Linked DNA regions of Homo sapiens: all the other regions are linked to region 5. The links are contacts of gene promoters, found by promoter capture Hi-C in blood cells and fetal thymus (Javierre and others, 2016). All regions are on one chromosome and are shown on one strand. Each heading gives the region's core, a stretch centred on a gene start or on the middle of the fragment in contact. The rest is flanking DNA. Distances are from core to core; before and after follow the strand shown.

Region 1 (3,243 bases), core at 1-2,500, 690 kb before region 5:
CTGGGAGGTGGAGCTTGCAGTGAGCCGAGATCACGCCACTGCACTCCAGCCTGGGCAACAGAGCGAGACTCCGTCTCAAAAAATAAATAAATAAATAAATAAATAAATCTACCGTATGGCTGTATTGCTCATGGAATTTTAAAACCAGAGTAACTTAAGTATATTAGGTCCTAAACTGTGATATGTTTTGAATAATTAAGACAATTGAATAATTATGGTAAAAGTCGATTTGTTCAAATGCTTCATGATTTTATTATAATTCATGTAAGCAGATCTATGATTGATATTTTAAGTTCCCAACATTATACATTTTCTTTGTTTTTTCCGCTCATCCTCTCTAGTAAGTCAGGAACATAAAACTTTCCTTAATGTTATCATTTGCTTAGTTGACAGTCATACAATGTAATTTGTCCCTTTGAAAAAAAATTTTTTAAATTAGGTAATATAGTAACATTAGAAACTTTGTAAAATGACAAAATTTCCCATAATCATACCATCCTAAACAATTGTTAATATTTTTCAGTATTTTATACTTTATATGCATATTTTGACGTTAAAAAGATTTATATCTTTTCATAATGTGGCATAAATTTTTTGTTGTTTATATAGCTTCAAAACTATTAGGTTAAATTACTGCATTTTTTTCCTTTAGATTCTACAATTCAATCATTTTCTTACCTTTAGATTGGTCACATTAGAAGAGTTATATATAATATATATGTGTATGCATATATAATCTTTACTGATAAATCTGTTTCAATATATTTTTCCTTTAGAATAGATTCTTAGAAGTGGGATCACTTATTGGGTCAATGGACTTGGATATTTTTGTAACTTGTTAAATTTGCCCAGTTGACTAAAAAATAAAGCTGATCCACTTATATTACTATCAGCATATCTGAGTTGTCAATATATCAAAGCATCAGTTTCACTTAATTCTTGGCTGCATCAGGAATTACTTTAAAATTATTTACTTTATGTTAACCTGATTAACAGTGACACTGAGCATTTTTTGCCCTTGTGAATTATTTCTATTTTCTTTTCTGTAAAACATATGGTCCTGTCTTTTAACTATTGATGTGTTGGGTCCTTGCTGTTTACTTTTCCCCCACCTTTTCATTTTGAGTCAGACCTTTTAAATAAGTAAAACATGAATGTTTCTTCTAGTCATTTTTGTGGTAAATATATTTCTTTGCCATTTCTTATTTTGATTATTTTAATATGTAGAAGTTGCACATTTTTATGAGACTCAACAGTTATCTACCCATAGAAAATACTATGTGTTATCAAAGAAAGAACATAAGACAGTCAAAATTCAGGGTTCTGGACAGAGATATTTATAATACTTGTTATATTTGACAAAGGACTCATATCCAGAACATATGTCAGAACGCTTACAAATCAATAAAAAAAAGACAGACAACCCAGTTTCAAAAGGTGGGGAAAAGCCCTAAACTCTCACTTCACAAAAGATACTCAGATATCTAAACCATTTGGCAGTATGTATGCTGAATGAATGCAAACTGATTTTATATTACCTGTGTAAAACCTATTTAAAAATGTAGATTTTTGGAAAGATAAATTTCATCGTAAAGCCAAATTTATATCATTCAGAGTATAAATGCTGTATTTGTTAGTGTGACCAGTTTAGATTTTACCGTACTTCTGTAGGAGAGAGGTCGGTTTCTTTTTGCTTTATCCTGCCTTTAATAGGAAATTATTTTTGCAGGTTTCTTCCCTGTTGAATATGATGTTAATTTTTACTGTCCAGCAGTTACATATTATCTAGGAAAAAATGCCTCATTGGAGATCAGTAATCTCTATAGATCTTAGCGTCTTTAAGCAGGATTGAGGAGTATCTTGGCTTTCAGTGACTCCATCAAGGTATGAGAGAATAGGAGAAAAAAAGGAAAGGAAATCAGAAATTCAAGGATGAAAATGTTGCGAGTGTCACAGAGAAGTGTATTTAAAAAACCCATATAAATCCCACAAGTACATGTGGTTGTTTTTCCTATTCTTTACTACAGGATATAATATAGATTATTTTTTTTTTTTGAGATGGAGTCTCACTCTTGCCCAGGCTGGATTGAATTTTTAGTAGAGACAGGGTTTCACCCTGTTGGCCGGGCTGGTCTCGAACACCTGACCTCAAGTGATTCACCCACCTCGGCCTCCCAGAGTGGTGGGATTACAGGTGTAAGCTGCTGCGCCTTGCCATAATATAGATTATTTTTATCCTTACAAATGAAACAATTCTAAGAAATTCTTTCTTGCCTTGTGACGAAGGCCTGTTTGGGATATGTATATCTCACCTAATTATTGTGCAAGCCTCCAAGTATTAGTATCTGTCCCTGGTTACCTCTTCTGTGCTTGGTTATTCCCATCGTAGCTAATCTACTAAAAATTATAGGCATAATTCTGTTTATTTTCATGGACAGCTTTTCTTATAATTACCCCTTTTAGATTTCTTATCCCTTTTAATGATGTAGAACATTTTGTTTCTTTCTGGCAGAAATAACTTTTTCAAGCCCCATTTGCCAACTTCCTTCTCACACATACGCTCCTTTCTCTTCCTTATTGAGTGCAAGTTGAGTATCCCTTATCTGAAATACTTAGGTCCATAATGTTTCCGATTTTGGGTTTTTTCAGATTTTGGAATATTTGCATTAATACTTACTGGTTCAGCATCCCTAATGCAAAAATGCAAAATCTGAAATGCTCTAATGAGTATTTCCTTTGATGCTTAAAAAGTTTCAGATTTCAGATTTTTGGATTAGGGATACTCAACCTGTAATAGTTGTTCATACCAGGTAGAGATACACTAATCAACCTGCCATTACTCTCTTTATAATTTATTTTCTCTTGACTACTTACCTAACCCTCAGAGTATATACTTTTTTTGAGATAAATTTATACCCCAGGCACATTTTTTCATTGTAAATCTCAGGGATTCCATATATTCCCTTCCCCATGGGCCTAAAATTCTGCTTTTCCTTACTTAGGATACTGTATGACATAATTGAGTAATCTTCCAGCTGGATAGTCTTTCTGGGTTTGGAAACTTTCTTCTCAGAACTGTCATCCCTTGAATTTGAATGTTTGTGATACATTCAAATCTTAATTTACCTATATTCTACTGTCATAATCTTTTTTCTGACATATATTTCAATATTTCTTATTCAAGAAGACACAAATACATACACACCCATGCACACCTCACATCCCAGGCTGGGACATTAGCCT
Region 2 (3,474 bases), core at 672-3,171, 530 kb before region 5:
TTGAATGTTCTTTAACTTGGGTTTATGTGATGTTTCCTCATGATTAGATTCAGGTTTTGCAGTTTGGCAGGAACACTAAAGAAGTGGTGTTCTGTCCTTCTCAGTGTGTCAGACCAGGAGGCATCTGCTGCCTGATTGTCCCATTATTGCTCGTATTAAGTTGGATCACTTAGTAGAAATGCTAACTGCTAGATGCATTGGAAAGATATAGTTCTTCTTTGTAATTAATATGTATTGCATGGAGTTATACTTTTAGATTGTATAAATATTCTTTTACGCCCCAATTTCCCACTGAATGATTTTGGCACTCTTTGATGATCCTTGCCTGAATCTATTATTTCTATGGTGGTTCTGAGAGGGTGATTTTCTGTTTCTATCATTCCTTCCACATGCATTCATTGGCATCTTTTCTTTTTCTTTTTTTCCTCCTTTAAAGGTTGGGTATAGACTCAGCAATTTTCAAAAAATTCAATGTTATATATTCTTTTGTGTCATTGATCTTGGTTGGCTCCTGTGTCTTTTGGCAGGTCCCGATCAGCTTTTGAGCATGTTCTGATGTTCTGAAACAAAAGATGTTCCAGGATCACCTTGTGCTTCCCTTGACCCAGCCCTGGAATCAACCATTTCTCCGTGGGATCCTGCTTTTGTCTTTTGACTATGGTGTTTAGACATGGAAGCCAGGGTGCAGGTATACTCCTTCTGCAGGAGGGTTATTGCTTCTAGGCTCTTTCAATGGACAAAATAGGAAGTATATACTTTTTTTTTTTTTTTTTTTTTGGAGACAGTGTCTCTTTCTCTCTGTCACCCAGGATGGAGTGCAGTGGTGTGATCTCTGTTCACTGCAACCTCCGCCTCCCCAGTTCAAGCGATTCTCATGCCTCAGCCTCCTGAGTAGCTGGGATTACAGGCATGCAGCACCACACCCGACTAATTCTTGTAATTGTAGTAGAGGCAGGGTTTTACCATGTTGCCCAGGCTGGTCTTGAACTCCTGACCTCAGGTGATCTGCCCACCTTGACCTCCCCAAGTGCTGGGATTACAGGCGTGAGCCACCGTGCCTGGCTAATACATAGTTTTAAAGACCTCGAATTTGTACTGATACCTCTAACTTCGTAACCCAACACCAAAGAGTTTGCGTCTTCTTCCTTTACTCCATATCTCTTTTAAAAAACAAAAAACAACCCTCCCATAATGGGAAAACTGGTTCCCAGTGAGACAGCCAAGTGGGAAGAGGATCCCTGGAAAAACTCCAACTGGCTTGTGCACTGGGAAGAGTGCACACTGGGGTGGAGACACAGAAGTTCACAACATTTGCAGAAGGGTTCCTCTTCCTGTGTGGAACCTGGGATTCAAGGCTCCTCCTCTTCCTGTGTGGAACTTGTGGGTGGGAAGTTCTCTAGCAGGGACTCTGGCCTTAGGAGGATCCCTGTTTCCCCTTTTTTCCCTTTTACCCAATACAACCCTGCTTTACTCACGCTTCAAACCATCTATGAGCCTAAATGTTGGTGACCATGGGACGGAAAAGGACCCTGTCTTTAGCTGAACTAAGGAAAAGTCCTGCAACACCAGCAAGATCAATATGTTTATCTATTTGAAATTCTAAAACACACGCAAAGTAGTTTCAGAATTACTACATCAATACCACTACCAAAGACAAACTTACCTTACCAGGTAAAGTTCAAGGCTTTCTTAATTATTATCCTTAGAATATTCCCTGAGGGTGGCCAGTTAGAATTTCACATTCACAAGTTACTTGGAATAATTATTTTTCTTGTTCTGAATAATTACATTTTTTATATGATACATGCTTAGGTTGATTTGTTTCTGTTTCTGTTCAACTTAACAGTCCTCCCAGCCTGGTGACTAAATTTTATATTTGAAAATGTAGGCCGGGCGTGGTGGCTCATGCCTGTAATCCCGGCACTTTGGGAGGCCAAGGCAGGTGAATCACGAGGTCAGAGTTCAAGACCAGCCTGGCCAAGATGGTGAAACCCCGTCTCTACTAAAAACACAAAAAATTAGCTGGGCACGGTGGCAGACGCCTGTAATCCCAGCTACTCGGGATGCTGAGGTAGGTGAACCACTTGAACTCAGAGGGCAGAGGTTGCAGTGACCCGAGATCGCGCTCCTGCACTCCAGCCTGGGCAACAGAGTGAGACTCCGTCTCAAAAAAAAAAAAAAAAGTAAACATTTATGTGGTTCAAGAGTAAAAACTATATAAAAATATAATCAGAAGAGTTCTATCTTTTTCCATCTTTCTCATTCATTTTCATCCTTTTGCTTTAGGTAATCAATCCCATTAGTTTCTGGTTAATCCTTTCTGCATTTCTTTTTTTGCAAAAATTAGGACATATTCATATATCTTCTGACAAAGTAGCTTTGGCCAAATAGAAATATTGTCTTGCTGGGCACAAAGCACCAATTTTCAAAAAAGTTCCCAATGACTGAGCAAGCATTTTCTCTTCTTGGTGTACCTGAGTGCACCTGTGATAGTAAGAAAGAAAGAAAGAAAGGAAGGAAAAAGAAAAAAAGACATGGTGAGAGTGGCGGTGAAGAGAGTAGGGGGCCTAATTAGCCTTAAGAATTTATTCACATTTAGTAAAATTTCCACTAGATGGCAGTAACACTCCAAGAATAAGTTTCCTTTGTGTTCTGGGATAGGGTGACGCACCTACATGGAATGATGAGCTGTGGAGTGTGTTTAGGACAGACTCCCACCCAATGCAGAAATATTTTAAATGGATTCATTTTTCAGGTAATACCAATTTAACTTTTAAAATTAACTCTAAATCCAGTTTATCCCTCAGTAATGTAATATACTGAAAAAAGAAAGAGACTGATCCTGAATCAATGTATGACTGATCTGTGATTTGATAGCCTCTCAAATCAGACAAGATACTATAAACAGCAAATGTTAAAAAACCCTTAAGATTCAGTAAAATGTATTTTTATGCCCAGTGTTAATTAAAATCTCTTTATTGAATGCACTTTACCTCTTTATTTTTTGTTCAATTTTGTTTTATCCTGATTTTTAAAACAAGTAAAAAGTAGTCAAAGCCAAAAAGTAAACTAAATATCAAGGTTCATTTTAACTCAGATTAGGATGTGGTACATATAGCTGGGATTGTAGAGGTAATACCATACCCCTGGTTAACTCAATAGATCTTGCAAAAAGTTCTATTTAATATCAGTCACTGCTTTTCATGGCTCAGCTAGGCTTTAAGAACGAAATATTTTCTACGATATTCAGTAGTGTAATATGATATGGAAGCAACTGCTTCCATAAGTGTAGAGGGCAGGAGTGATCTGATCAGCTGAGAGTAGTCCGTGACGGCTTCCAGGAGTAAGTGAACTTTGAAAAAGGTGCTGAAGGAAATCATAGATATGAGTTGATAGTTAGGGAAAGGTAGGCCCTGTGGATAGGAAGAAAGATGTAAAAAAAAAAACAAGGGTAATTGCAAATGATGTCATCTC
Region 3 (3,011 bases), core at 56-2,555, 740 kb before region 5:
GCGACAAGGTGAGACCTTATTCCCTCCACCTCCCCAAAAGATGAAATGAATTCATTTGTTTGATGCTATTAGAATACCAGTAACTCCCCTTACTTTGGCCCCAAATTCACAAATGAACCCTCCAAAAGGTAATGCAGTTAACTTCATGCATTCTCTTTAAACAATGTACTGAGTCTTTATGCCAGGGAATTTGGAATTAACAGATACAGTACAGGTCTCTCATTTCAAAGTAGTATTCCTAATCATGAAGGAAATGAGAGACCTGTACTGGAATCCTGTCTTTAACACCTTTGAGGATGGTGAATTTAGGTAAGTTATTCAACCTATTTTAGCCTCGGTTTCTTCATTGGAAAAATGGGGCAAACAATACTTATTTTACAGAGTTGTGAGGATTAAATGAGACAATATATATAATATGCTTTGCACAGTGGCTGGCATACAGGAAACGTTTAATATATGGTAGCTACTATAAACTCGGTTATTTCCGTGTAGCTTTCCATGTCTACATGGAGGGAGAAAATGAGCAGATGTCCATTATAATTTAGCTATTACAGTTTTCACTCTAAAGTAAAAAAGGCATTTAGATTTATATGTCTTCTGGGAGTTTGGTTCTTCTGACTCCCTTCATCTGTGAGACCATAGGTACTTTTATGTAATATGATAAAAATTATTAGAAAAAGAAAAAAACGGCCGGGTGCAGTGGCTCACACCTGTAATCCCAGCGCTTTGGGAGGCCAAGGCAGGTAGATCACCTGAGGTTGGGAGTTCGAGACCAGCCTGACCAACATGGAGAAACCCGTCTCTACTAAAAATACAAAATTAGCAGGGTATGGTGGTGCATGCTTGTAATCCCAGCTACTTGGGAGGCTGAGGTAGGAGTATCGCTTCAACTCAGGAGGCAGAGGTTGCGGTGAGCCAAGATCGCACCATTGCACTCCAGCCTGGGCAATAAGAGCGAAACTCTGTCTCAAAAAAGAAAAAAATAAACTAAAAAGGAAAAAAGGGCCGGGCACGGTGGCTTACGCCTGTAATCCCAGCACTTTGGGAGGCTGAGGCAGGCGGATCACAAGGTCAGGCAATGAAGACCATCCTGGCCAACATGGTGAAACCCCGTCTCTACTGAAAATACAAAAATTAGCTGGATGTGGTGGTGCACACCTGTAATCCCAGCTATTTGGGAGGCTGAGGCAGGAGAATCGCTTGAACCCAGGAGGCAGAGGTTGCAGTGAGCCGAGACTGCACCACTGCACTCCAGCCTGGCGACAGAAAAAGACTCCCATCTCGAACACAAAAAACAAACAAAAAAAGGGAAATAAAGAATATGCAAAGTACAATCCCTCAAATTTTTATTAGACCCACAGAAATAAAATTAGTCTGTTAAACTGCTATAAGTTTCTAAATTCTTACTTTCTGTAAATGCCTTGACATGGATGTGTAACAAAGGGCTTACAGACTGGCACTGCCTTGTGGACCACACTTTTGGTGAGACTGCTCTAGAGCGCTGACAAAAATCAGACTTTGAATCCACAGGGCTGAAGTCAAAGCAACTGAAGGGTGTCCTGACTCACCAGCTGGCCACCTAGTGGCCTCCTTCTAGTCATAAGCACAACCTTGTGTCACTCCTTAGTTCAAAAACCATCCATTATTCTGCCTGACTCAAGGGTAAAATCTCAGTCCTTTAATCTGACATCCAAGGCCTTCCAGAGCTGGTTCTAAACAACTTTTTAAGTCTGACTTTCCACTATCCTCTACTTCACTAGACTGCATTGTCCAATATGGTAATAACTTGTCCCACTTGAAATGCAGAAGTGAAATGAGGCTAATTTAGGAACTGAATTCATAATCCTAACTTTAATTTAAAATAAAATTTAAAAATATACACGATTCGATTACCGTAAAACTTTTAAGTATGCTTGGAACGACTTGGGTACGTGAATCTATTTTTTCAGCTGGAAATTTTATGAAATCAAGTACTGAGATATGCTATAAGTATAAAATACACACCAGATTTCAAATGCTTAGTTATGAGAAAGATAATGTAAAATATTTTTAATATTTAGTAATTTTTTATGTTGATCACATGTGAAATAATATTTGGATATGCTAGGGGTTAAAAGTGTAATTAAAATTAATTCCACCTAGACAACATGCCCCAAACCTAGGCATCACTATTGATTCCTCCCTTTCCTCATTTAATTGGTAAGCAAGATAGGTCAGCTTTTTGGATCCATCCACTTCCCTCATCTCTACTGCTACTATCCTAGTCCATGATACTCCATTTCTTTTTTTTTTTTTTTTTTTTTTGAGACGGAGTCTCGCTCTGTCGCCCAGGCTGGAGTGCAGTGGCACGATCTCGGCTCACTGCAAGCCCTGCCTCCTGGGTTCACGCCATTATCCTGCCTCAGCCTCCCGAGTAGCTGGGACTACAGGCGCCCGCCACCACGCCTGGCTAATTTTTAAAAAAATTTTTTATTTTGAATAGAGACGGGGTTTCACCATGTTAGCCAGGATGGTCTCCATCTCCTGACCTCTTGATCCTCCCACCTCGGCCTCCCAAAGTGCTGGGATTACAGGCGTGAGCCACCGCGCCCGGCCAGATACTCCATTTCTTAAATCCTTCAATGGCTTCCAGTGCACTTCACCTTCTTATTGAGGCTGAAGACTTCACCTCCTATCATTCCTTCTTTTGGTCACTAGATTTCGGATACACTGACCTTGCTATTCCCTAAACACAACAAATTTTTCACCTTAGGGCCTTTGCCCAGCTATTCCCTTTGGTCTCACACTGTTCTTGTCCTTTCTAATACCTTCTCAGTGAGGCCATCTCTGATCAACCAACCACCAAAAGTTTGCTCTCTTTTCCCCAGAGTAACACTTTATCCAATCAGCTTTTAATTTTCCTCACAAACTCTTTTTTTTTGAGGCGGAGTCTCGTTCAGTCGCCCAGGCTGGAGTGCAGTGGCGCAATCTCGGCTCACTGCAGCCTCCGTGTCCTGGGTTCAAGCTACTCT
Region 4 (3,489 bases), core at 325-2,824, 710 kb before region 5:
AAGTTTCTGTGGAATTGGGAATGTTATTTATTTTTTTCTTGAGACAGGTCTCACTCTGTCACCCAGGCTGGAGTGTGGTGCAATCATGGCTCACTGAGCTAAAAATAATATATTTATGGATGAAGTAATGTGATAATATAATGATAATGTGATCACTCAGGCAATCCTCCCACCTCAGCCTCCTGAGTACCTGGGACCACAGATGCACACAACCTCGACCTGTCTAATTTTTAAAATTATTTGTAGAGACGAGGTCTCGCTGTGTTGCTCAGGCTCAAACTCCTGTGCTCAAGTGATTCTCCCACCTCAGTCCTACAGACTGCTGGGATTGTAGGTGTGAGCCACCATGTTTGGCCTGGAAATGTTCTTTTTCTGTGCTGTCCAATATTGTAGTCATAAGCTACATAGGGCTATTGAGTACTTGAAAATTCAATAAACTGAATTTTTAAGTTTATTGGCTTAATAAGTTATTAAGTTATTAATAAGTTATTAAGCCAATAAACTTAATTTTTATTAAATATCCACATGCACCATATTGGACAGTATGTTTTTAAAGGATATACTTAGGACAGGATGAAATTGATCTCAAATCACAAAATGAAATGTATGAAGAGTAAATTAAAGGTAAAGAAAATGATACATATTTAGAGAATGAAAATGAATATGGATTGCATTAAACATAGTAAAAATGTCTAATGGATTAAAAACAAGGGTATAACAAGTAGGATAGGTAGAGTCTAGGATTTAAGGTCCTTGTCTTACCTAGAAGGATAGTAATTTAAAAAAAACCTCTTATGGAAAATTTTAAATATGTAAAAGAGAAGAGTATAATGAATCCTTATGTATTTATTACCCACCTTCAACAGTTATGAATTCATGACTAAAGTGTTTTTATATATATCCCAAGTATTTTAAAGTAAGTCCTAACAATCACATTATTTAACCCATAAATATATTGTTCTTATAAAAGATATGGGCTTAAAGTATAATACCAGTATCATATACAGAAAAAAATCAATAATTTCTTAGCATTATGTAGTTAGTATTCACATTTTCCCAATTATCTAAAAAAAGATTTAAAAAATTATATTTGGTTTCTTCAAACTGGAATCCAAACAGGGTCTACATATTGCATTTTGTTGATGTGTTGCTTATGTCTTTTAAAATCTATAGATTTTTTGGGAAAAGAGAGAATAAAGATTTTGATTAGACTTTACTGCATGGTATAATTTCTAGAAAACCAACAAAAGAACAGAAACAGAGGGTATAACTTCCAAATCAGTAGAGGAAATAAATAGAATGCTAAAAAGAATTGAGGGGAAAGAAGGCAGCAACAACAAAGGAGAGAAAAGAAACTGGACAGGGGGCTGGGCACGGTGGCTCATACCTATAATCTCAGCACTTTGGGAGGCCGAGGCAGGTGGATTGCTTGAGGTCAGGAGTTCGAGACCAGCATGATCAACATGGTGAAACCCCGTCTCTACTAAAAATACAAAAATCAGCAGAGTGTGATGGTGCATGCCTGTAATCCCAGCTACTTGGGAGACTGAGACGGGAGAATCGCTTGAACCCAGGAGGTGGAGGTTGCAGTGAGCAGAGATCATGCAACTGCACTCCAGCCTGGGCGACAGAGCGAGACTCTATTTCAAAAAAAACAAAAAACAAAAAACAAAAAAAAAAACTGAACGGGACAAATGGAAAGCATAAAATATGATGTTAGATTTAACTTAAATATATAGCAATTAAAGGTAAATTGTCTAATAACCACACAGGTATCATCCAGGCCTGAGGTGCCAGCAGCTCTTGCCTGGAATAATTTTCTAACTAGTACGCTTGTTTCAGTTCTTGCTTTCCACTATGTATTAACCAAATGATAACAGGAGTAGCCTCTTAACAATGTAAATCACATCACAACACTCTCCTGTTTAAAACTTTCTGACAACTTGCTAGTAATCTCAATAAAATTCACTCTTTCTAGTGCCTATAAGGTTCTATGTGATCCAGCCCATTTGTATTTCTATGATTGCATTTCCTGTTATACTTCTTCACTGTAGCTCAGGGCGCTTAACATATGCTGTTCCATTTCCCTGGATCACCAGGGTCAGCCAGAATTCTTAGTTCTAAGTAGTCAAATAATCTCTGGTTAATTTAACAGAAAAGGAATTTATCACAGGAGGAAGCTGCTACCACTACTGTTATTGGAATCTGCTGCCACGTTTGCCACTAAGGGTTCTACACACTCTCGGCTTTTTAAATGCACTATCTTCTACATTAAGGTCCAGCACAGATGCTTCTCTTGTGGAGTGGAGGTCATATGACTGTACCCTTGCCTTATGGGAAGCAAGGAAAGCAAATATTCAGTAGTAGGCAGAGGTTTCTGCCTTCTTTCAAGATGCATATGGAAGGGAATTCCCCAAGGACAAGAAGGTGTTTTGATGCTAAGCAACCAAGAGAATGACTTGTGCATCATGATGCTTCCTTTGGATCCTCCCTAGGTTTGCTTTCCCTTTCATTCCTGTTTCTACTCAGTTGTCACCTCCTCAGAGAGGCCTTTTGTAATCACTTTCTCCAAAATGGCAATTCCCTATCCCTAATCTAGTACTCTGTTTCTTACTCTGCCTTACTTTTTCTTCATACCGTTTATCACTGCCACAACCACCACTACTACTACTACTTATTTACTTCTTTATTGTGAAGTTCTTATCCCAGAACATAAGCTCTTTGCTCTTCATTTACTCAGTAAACATTTGTTTGTTGAATGAAGAGAAACATAGAGATTATGCTATATATTGCTGAGGAAATTTAAGAGCTCATCTTAGAAAGTTTTGTTGGAGAAAAGATCTTTTAAAAATGGGCTTTGATTGAAGTATAGCATTTGGAGAGAAAGGATGTAACCATTCTAAACTGGGAAAATAGCATGAGGGGAGACATTGGGTCTGGAATAAGGTAAGTGTGTATGGGATGAGGAAGGAGAATTGGGTCTGGAATAAGGTAAGTGTGTATGAGATGAGGAAGGAGAATTGTTTAAAATCGGATGACTGTCAGGGCCCTATATTCAGAGAAAAATGGATGAAGTAAATGTGTGAGGCAGTTGATAGAGGGACTCAAATTGCAAGGTGAGATCTTGTGATTGCTAGAGTAAGAGATAACTAGTTTTTTTTTAATTAAAAGTATACAATGGTATTTTCACATAGCCGAGTACTATGCAGCTGTAAAACAGAATGAGAAAAATCTCTATGCAGTATTTTCCAGGATATATATTAAATGGGAAAAAAAGCAAAGTACAGAACAATGTGTGTTTAGTATGTTCCTTTGGTGTGAGAAGTAGGGAATGGTGGCTGGGCATGGTGACTCATGCCTGTAATCCCTGCACTTTGGGAGGCTGAGGTGGGAGGATTGCTTGAGCCCCGGAGTTTGAGACCAGCCTGGGCAACATGTCAAAACCTCGTCTCTCCAAAAATTAGAATTAGTCAGGTGTGGTGATGCGTG
Region 5 (3,074 bases), core at 176-2,675:
CCTCCAGCATTCAACTCTGTAAGAGCAGATTCCTTCCCTGATCTCACCTATTCCTGATTCTTATGCAACAGCAGGAACTCAACAAACACTTGTTAACTAAATCAAAACCATTCTGCAAAACACATCCAGTAAGCATCTCACTACTGAAGTATCTGACAAACTACCTTTATGGGCCGTCTGCAGCCTAGCACAAGTGGCAGGCTGGCAATTTTTTTTTCTCCAAAATAATAACAAAAAGCTTCTACCTCTTCCATTATTGTAAGCTGACTCACCTCCCAATGGAACACTATACAGACTCCCCTGTCCTATATTGTGGACCAATTCAGTATTAGAAAAAAACCACTTCCAATTTTCTTTAGAGTGTTTTTAAGAACTTGGTCACATAGGACCTACAGGTCCAACATTCATTTTTCATAATCCAAGGTAGTAGTACCCTTTTTCATATAGGATCAATGGCCTCTCCCACACCACCCGCCATATGGTAACAAACTGTCTTGCCTTCGTTTTCATGGTGCACTGGGTTAGTCCTTACATGCTGCGATCTACAGTATTGATTTTACCATCCAACTTTGTGGGCCTGGCGACTGAAAATGTTAATATACTTCCTTATTTGTCCTACATTCCCAATAAATAATTTAGACGTAAGAAACAGGCTCTTTTGCTTATTATGTAACCACAACCTCAATATTTTAAATACACTGCATGGCATCACTAATTCTACGTCTGTACTACGCTTCCCCTTCCGTGATAACCAAACCCCCACAAACCACTCCAAATACTAAAAATAAAATAAAATAAAGTATGGGGTTCCTAGGGAACTGACTTTGCCAGGACATACTTTTCGTTGGGGCGGAATGCACCGAAAATCATTGGTAGGAAAAATAATTTTTTTTTTGAGGAAAAATTTGGAAACCTTTTTCCCAAAGGGCCCGCAAGATCCTAAAAAAAGCAAGAGACCGCGCAGAAACCGAGGATCCCCCTCACAGGCGACACCCAGCGCGACCTCCGCTAGGGTCCTGACAAAGAATGTCCACTTCCCGCGGCCGCACCTCTGGGGCCAGACCACTGGTCTCCAGAGAGGCGCGGGGACCTCCACCAGGGATCGGAGTGGTACTCAGACCTGCACACCCGCGAGTCCTCGAACAGCTCCACACGTCTCCAGCTCCGCCCGAGCCCGAGCCACGCGCCGGGCCGTGATCGCGCACGGACCAGACGGAGCGCTTTCCGGGAGACACCAGAGGGAGGAGCCAGGCAGTTACTAGCGTCGTTGCTAAGGCAGGGGCCGCGCACACCGCACACCGCGCGGCTTAAGCAACAGGCTGGGACGACAGCGGGGGGGGGGTTAGACGGGAAGTTCCGCCTCAGCCTCTCAATCAGCGGCGGTGTCGCACTTCTCCCGAGAGGCTCCGGCGAGGGGCAGGGCCGCGTTCGTCCGGGACCCGCCTCAAGCCTCGCAGCCTTTCACCCAGTTTCCTCCCGATTCTTGCTGGGACAACAAAATTGGGAAGCGGTTCTCGAAACATACTGTCAAGGCGTAGTTGCAGTGAGTTGTGAAGAAATGTTGATCCCAGAGAAAAGTTTGCATTTTGCCCACCTCAAAGATATTTTGATTGTGAGAACTTGGTTACATTAGTCTTTCGTGGCTATATCAATATCATTATTTCGTGTGCTGTGTGGTAATGAAAGCTATTAGAAAAATCATTTGTATCTTAATGATTTAGTTTGCATAAAAACACGCATATAGAGTTAAGAGTACTTTGTGTTTTTCCACTTTGAAGTATAATATGTGGATAAGTTATTAGAACATTTGTCCGTGCCTCTCCCCAAACAATGCGCAAACGGAAGTGCACTCTAACAACTAAGATTTTAAAACACAATGGTCAAATGTTGAGCAATGTTTTATTGACTACTCTGAATTTATCAAGTGGTAGATAAAGGACATTACAATGCCCTAGAAGTGCTCACGATATCAAGTAAAGCATGTTAAATTCAAGTACAGAAAATGCAATATTCTTACTACTGAGATAAAAAATGGAATTTAATAAATTACAGGAATTTCAAGAAAGCTGAGAATGGAGTGGTCAATAAAGGCTTCTTTTTCGGACTTGGGTAAGGCCTTGAAGAATGATTTAGGTTTAGGACAGTGTTTTTCAACTGGAAAGGGGATTGTGTGGGACCCATTAGTGGAGGTCTTGACCCATTTGTAAGCAAGGAAATCTCTTTAAACTTAAAAAAAAGAAACAATATAGATTGGAAATATCAGCGCATGTAAGTAAATTTAGTGTTAGTTAGTAAAGTACTGCTTTATGGAGCTTTTAATTGTATATATGCGTGTATGTGTGCACTAGGGCTTGTTTGTAAAATGTATTTCTTACTGTATTTCAAACCTTAAAAAGTTTGAAAGCCAGTGATTTAGGGAGAAAGGTGAATTTTCTGGGTAGGGAAAGTAGAATAGCAAAGTCTATAAGCCAAGAAGAATTCACAACCATTTTCCTTTTTAGTTTAACTCTAAATTTTATCAAAGTAGTTAAATTGCACAGATTAAAAAGCAAATAATACTACTTGTTAGATTGAGCATTGGGTTGCTATCGTATGTAATAAATTACTCCAAAATATGGTGGCTTAAAACAACCATTTTATTATGTTCACAGGTGGTGTTGTCAATAGGGCATAGTCATCAGCTTTTCTTTGGTAACTCAATTAGAAAGACTAGAGTGGGCATGCTAGCAGAGCTTCTGTAACTATATGGCCGGGGTTTCCTCACAGTATGGCAGCAAGGTAGTCAGACTTCTTAGCTTAAACTCAGAGCTCCAAAGGGAGTGTTGCAATGAACAAGGCAAAAATTGCCTGACCTTTTCTGACCTTGCCTCAAAAAGTAACGCGGTGCTACTTCCCCCACTTTCTTTTGCTTACAAATGTGTCAAAGTCCTGTTCCATTTTAGGAAAGGAGACATAGATCCCTCTTCTCAAAGGATTGGCAAAGATTTCTTGTCCATGTTTTAAAACCAGCATAGTGAATTTACTTCTGTAACAGAAAACCCCAAAATATCGGTGGTTTAATACACTTTTTTTTT
Region 6 (3,028 bases), core at 217-2,716, 810 kb before region 5:
AATTTGTGCTAGTTTTGCTGTCACACCTCAAGTTGCACAAGTTATGGCCACAGGGCATAACTTTTATTACACTATATTGTTGTAATTATTCTATTTTATTATTAGTTATTGTTGTTAATCTCTTGTTACTAATTTATAAGTTAAACTTTATCATAAAAATGTATATATAGGGAAAACATAGTATATATAGGGTTCAGTACTATCTGTGGTTTCAGGCATTCATTGGAGGTCTTGAAACATATCCCCTGCAGATAAGAGGAAGACTGCTGCATTATTAAAAACTAAATTGTAGGCCCGGCGTGGTAGCTAACGCCTGTAATCCCAGCACTTTGGGAGGCCGAGGCAGGTGGATTGCCTGAGCTCAGGAGTTCGTGACCAGCCTGGGCAACACAGTGAAACCCCATCTCTACTAAAACACAAAAAATTAGCTGGGCGTGGCGGCATATGCCTGTGATCCCAGCTACTTGGGAGGCTGAGGCAGGAGAATTGCTTGAACCCATCAGACGGAGGGTGCAGTGAGCCGAGATCATGCCACTGCATCCAGCCTAGGTGACAGAGCAAGACTCCCTCTCAAAAACAAACAAACAAAAAACTAAATTGTAATGTGTTAGTCAAAAGAGACAAGGCTTAGTTAACCCTTATTCACTATACATGAGAACTGTTTTACTTGAATTAGTATGGTATTAGTCAGGTGTGCTGGCGTGTGCCTGCAGTCCTAGCTACTTGGGAGGCTGAGGCAGGAGGATCACTTGAGCCCAGGAAGCAGAGGTTACAGTGAGCCAAGGTCATGCCACTGCACTCCAGCCTGGGTGACAGAGCAAGACCTTGTCTCAGTTTAAAAAAAAAAAGGGCCAGGTATGGTGGCTCACGGCTATAATCCCAGCACTTTGGGAGGCTGAGGCGGGCAGATCACCTGAGGTCAGGAGTTCAAGACCAGCCTGGCCAACATGGCAAAACCCCATCTCTACTAAAATACAAAAATTAGCCGGGCATGGTGGCAGGTGCCTATAGTCCCAGCTACTCGGGAGGCTGAAGCAGAATTGCTTAAACCCAGGAGGCGGACATTTCAGTGAGCCGAGAACTCACCACTGCACTCCAGCCTAGAAGACAGAGCAAGACTCCGTCTCAAAAAAAAAAAAAAAAAAAAAATTAGTACGGCTATAAATGTAGAATTCCAAATAAGTTTAATATAATATTTCATCATTCAGTACTAATAAATTTAATATTATGGAACTGTTGCAGGCCTTACTTTCCATTTATTAATCATATGACTTTGAACAAATTCCGTAAATCACTCCCAATACCACCACCACTCTTCAGTTTACTTTCATCTGCAAAATGAAATAGGAACTATTTGTCTGCTTCTATAGGGTGACCATAGGTATCAAGTGAAAAAATATACAAAAACATGCTTTGAAAACTGTAATATGCCATTACAACATAAAGTATTACGGTTAAAGAAATTGGAAATGGGTCAGGCGCGGTGGCTCACGCCTGTAATTCCAGCACTTTCGGAGGTTGAGGCAGGTGGATCACAGGTCAAGAGATCAAGATCATCCTGGCCAACATGGTGAAACCCCATCTCTACTAAAAATACAAAAATTAGCTGGGCTTGGTGACATGCTACTCGGGAGGCTGAGGCAGGAGAATGGCGTGAACCCAGGAGGCAGAGGTTGCAGTGAGCTGAGATCGTACACTGCACTCCAGGCTGACAACAGAGCAAGACTCCATCTCAAAAAAAAAAAAAGAAGAAGAAGAAAGAAAGAAACTGGAAATTGGAAGTGTACCTGATTCTTCATCTGCTATATAAATGCAAACAAGAGTCCAATACAACTTTGTCATCAAAATTATAGTAGGCAAAGCACGGCCACAAATTCTTTGACATTTTTCCTTTCAAAGGTGAGGGTTGTACGCTGGTCTTTGCTCTAACCAACAGAGTATGTTGGAAGTAATGTTGTGCGAATTTCTGGGCTCAGGCTTTTTGGGAGACTGGCAGCTTCTACTTCCTGACTCCTCAAACATGTATTCTCGGAACCTAGCCGCCATACTGTTCAAGTCACGTGAAGAGGCTATGTGTGGGCATTCCAGTTGACATTTCCAGCTGAACTCCTAGCCAACATCAAACGCCTTCACGTGAATTAGCCATTTTGGATGTCCAGACCAGCTGAGCTCTCGGTTGACTCCAAACTCAGCTGCTTATCTGAATACAAACGCATTAAACTCTAGGTGAAAACCACTTAGCTAAGTCCAGGCAGGCCAGAGAAACAGGAGAGATACTAAATTACAGTTTTAAGTCACTATGTTTTGGAGTGATTTGTTATGCAGCAATAGGTAACTGGGACAACAACAAGGTATTTTTTAAATGTTTCCTTAATTATATCTAATTTTATTAGCAACACATACCTGAAGACATTTTTTTCCTTTCACTTCCATAAATATGAGTGCATTTTCATGGAGAAAAGTTCGTAATATAGTGCTAGACTTATGAAAAAAATTTAATGTACTGGCTTTATTTTCCAACTGTCTTACCCAAAAGTCATTTTGATTATTTTCCATTATGTCCACGCTTTTTATTTTTTATTTTTTGAGACGGAGTTTTGCTCTTGTCACCCAGGCTGGAGTGCAATGACGCAATCTCGGCTCACTGCAACCTTCGCTTTCCAGGTTCAAGCGATTCTCCTGCCTCAGCCTCCAGAGTAGCTGGGACTACAGGCGTGCACCACCACGCCCAGCTAATTTTGTATTTTTAGTAGAGACCGGGTTTCGCCATGTTGGCCAGGCTGATCTCGAACTCCTGACCTCAGTGATCCGCCCACCTCCGCCTCCCAAAGTGCTAGGATTACAGATGTGAGCCACTGCGCCCAGCCACGTCCACATTAATAAACAAATGCCCATAAAGATTAAAGTCCAAGTAAATATATTAAAAAACGAAATGCTAAAAAAGGCACCTTTAAAACATTTTTGTTAGTTTTTCTTATACATTGTTTTCTTAAAAAAACAGATGTCTATGTGCAAAATTTCATTAATG

What was found. The method cuts DNA at HindIII sites, captures the fragments that hold promoters and counts their contacts. A CHiCAGO score of 5 or more calls a contact.
Region 1: a contact is called between a fragment that was not itself captured here and the fragment with the promoter of FAM227B in region 5, in 7 of 17 cell types (megakaryocytes, M2 macrophages, naive B cells and 4 more). The highest score is 9.5, in megakaryocytes.
Region 2: a fragment that was not itself captured here is called in contact with the fragment with the promoter of FAM227B in region 5 in 1 of 17 cell types (neutrophils); the score reaches 5.5 in neutrophils.
Region 3: a fragment that was not itself captured here is called in contact with the fragment with the promoter of FAM227B in region 5 in 4 of 17 cell types (naive CD4 T cells, naive CD8 T cells, total CD8 T cells and 1 more); the score reaches 9.4 in naive CD4 T cells.
Region 4: a contact is called between a fragment that was not itself captured here and the fragment with the promoter of FAM227B in region 5, in 1 of 17 cell types (naive CD8 T cells). The highest score is 5.2, in naive CD8 T cells.
Region 6: a fragment that was not itself captured here is called in contact with the fragment with the promoter of FAM227B in region 5 in 2 of 17 cell types (naive CD8 T cells and naive CD4 T cells); the score reaches 6.2 in naive CD8 T cells.

The regions. Positions count from the first base shown.
Region 1 is chr15:50,311,036-50,314,278 of GRCh38, reverse strand. All of the region lies in intron 1 of GABPB1 (GA binding protein transcription factor subunit beta 1), which reads left to right. Among named protein-coding and RNA genes, the nearest start is that of GABPB1-AS1, 42 kb to the left of the region's middle. The HindIII fragment of the contact is 6,518 bases long and covers 1-3,243 here.
Region 2 is chr15:50,144,724-50,148,197 of GRCh38, reverse strand. It overlaps a transcript of ATP8B4 not described here. Among named protein-coding and RNA genes, the nearest start is that of ATP8B4, 27 kb to the right of the region's middle. The HindIII fragment of the contact is 5,521 bases long and covers 1-3,474 here.
Region 3 is chr15:50,357,598-50,360,608 of GRCh38, reverse strand. It overlaps GABPB1-AS1 (GABPB1 antisense RNA 1), which reads right to left. Exons shown (of 1, transcript NR_024490.1): 1 at 2,297-3,011. It overlaps MIR4712 (microRNA 4712), which reads right to left and starts at 280; the gene lies at 199-280. The HindIII fragment of the contact is 6,184 bases long and covers 1-3,011 here.
Region 4 is chr15:50,330,051-50,333,539 of GRCh38, reverse strand. The region is part of intron 1 of GABPB1 (GA binding protein transcription factor subunit beta 1); the gene reads left to right. Among named protein-coding and RNA genes, the nearest start is that of GABPB1-AS1, 22 kb to the left of the region's middle. The HindIII fragment of the contact is 5,779 bases long and covers 1-3,489 here.
Region 5 is chr15:49,619,169-49,622,242 of GRCh38, reverse strand. FAM227B (family with sequence similarity 227 member B) reads left to right here and starts at 1,425. Exons shown (of 16, transcript NM_152647.3): 1 at 1,425-1,543. It overlaps DTWD1 (DTW motif tRNA-uridine aminocarboxypropyltransferase 1), which reads right to left and starts at 1,195. Exons shown (of 5, transcript NM_001144955.2): 1 at 1,121-1,195. RefSeq lists an enhancer at 964-1,083. The HindIII fragment of the contact is 6,893 bases long and covers 241-3,074 here.
Region 6 is chr15:50,425,680-50,428,707 of GRCh38, reverse strand. All of the region lies in intron 1 of USP8 (ubiquitin specific peptidase 8), which reads right to left. Among named protein-coding and RNA genes, the nearest start is that of USP8, 2.8 kb to the right of the region's middle. The HindIII fragment of the contact is 4,576 bases long and covers 1-3,028 here.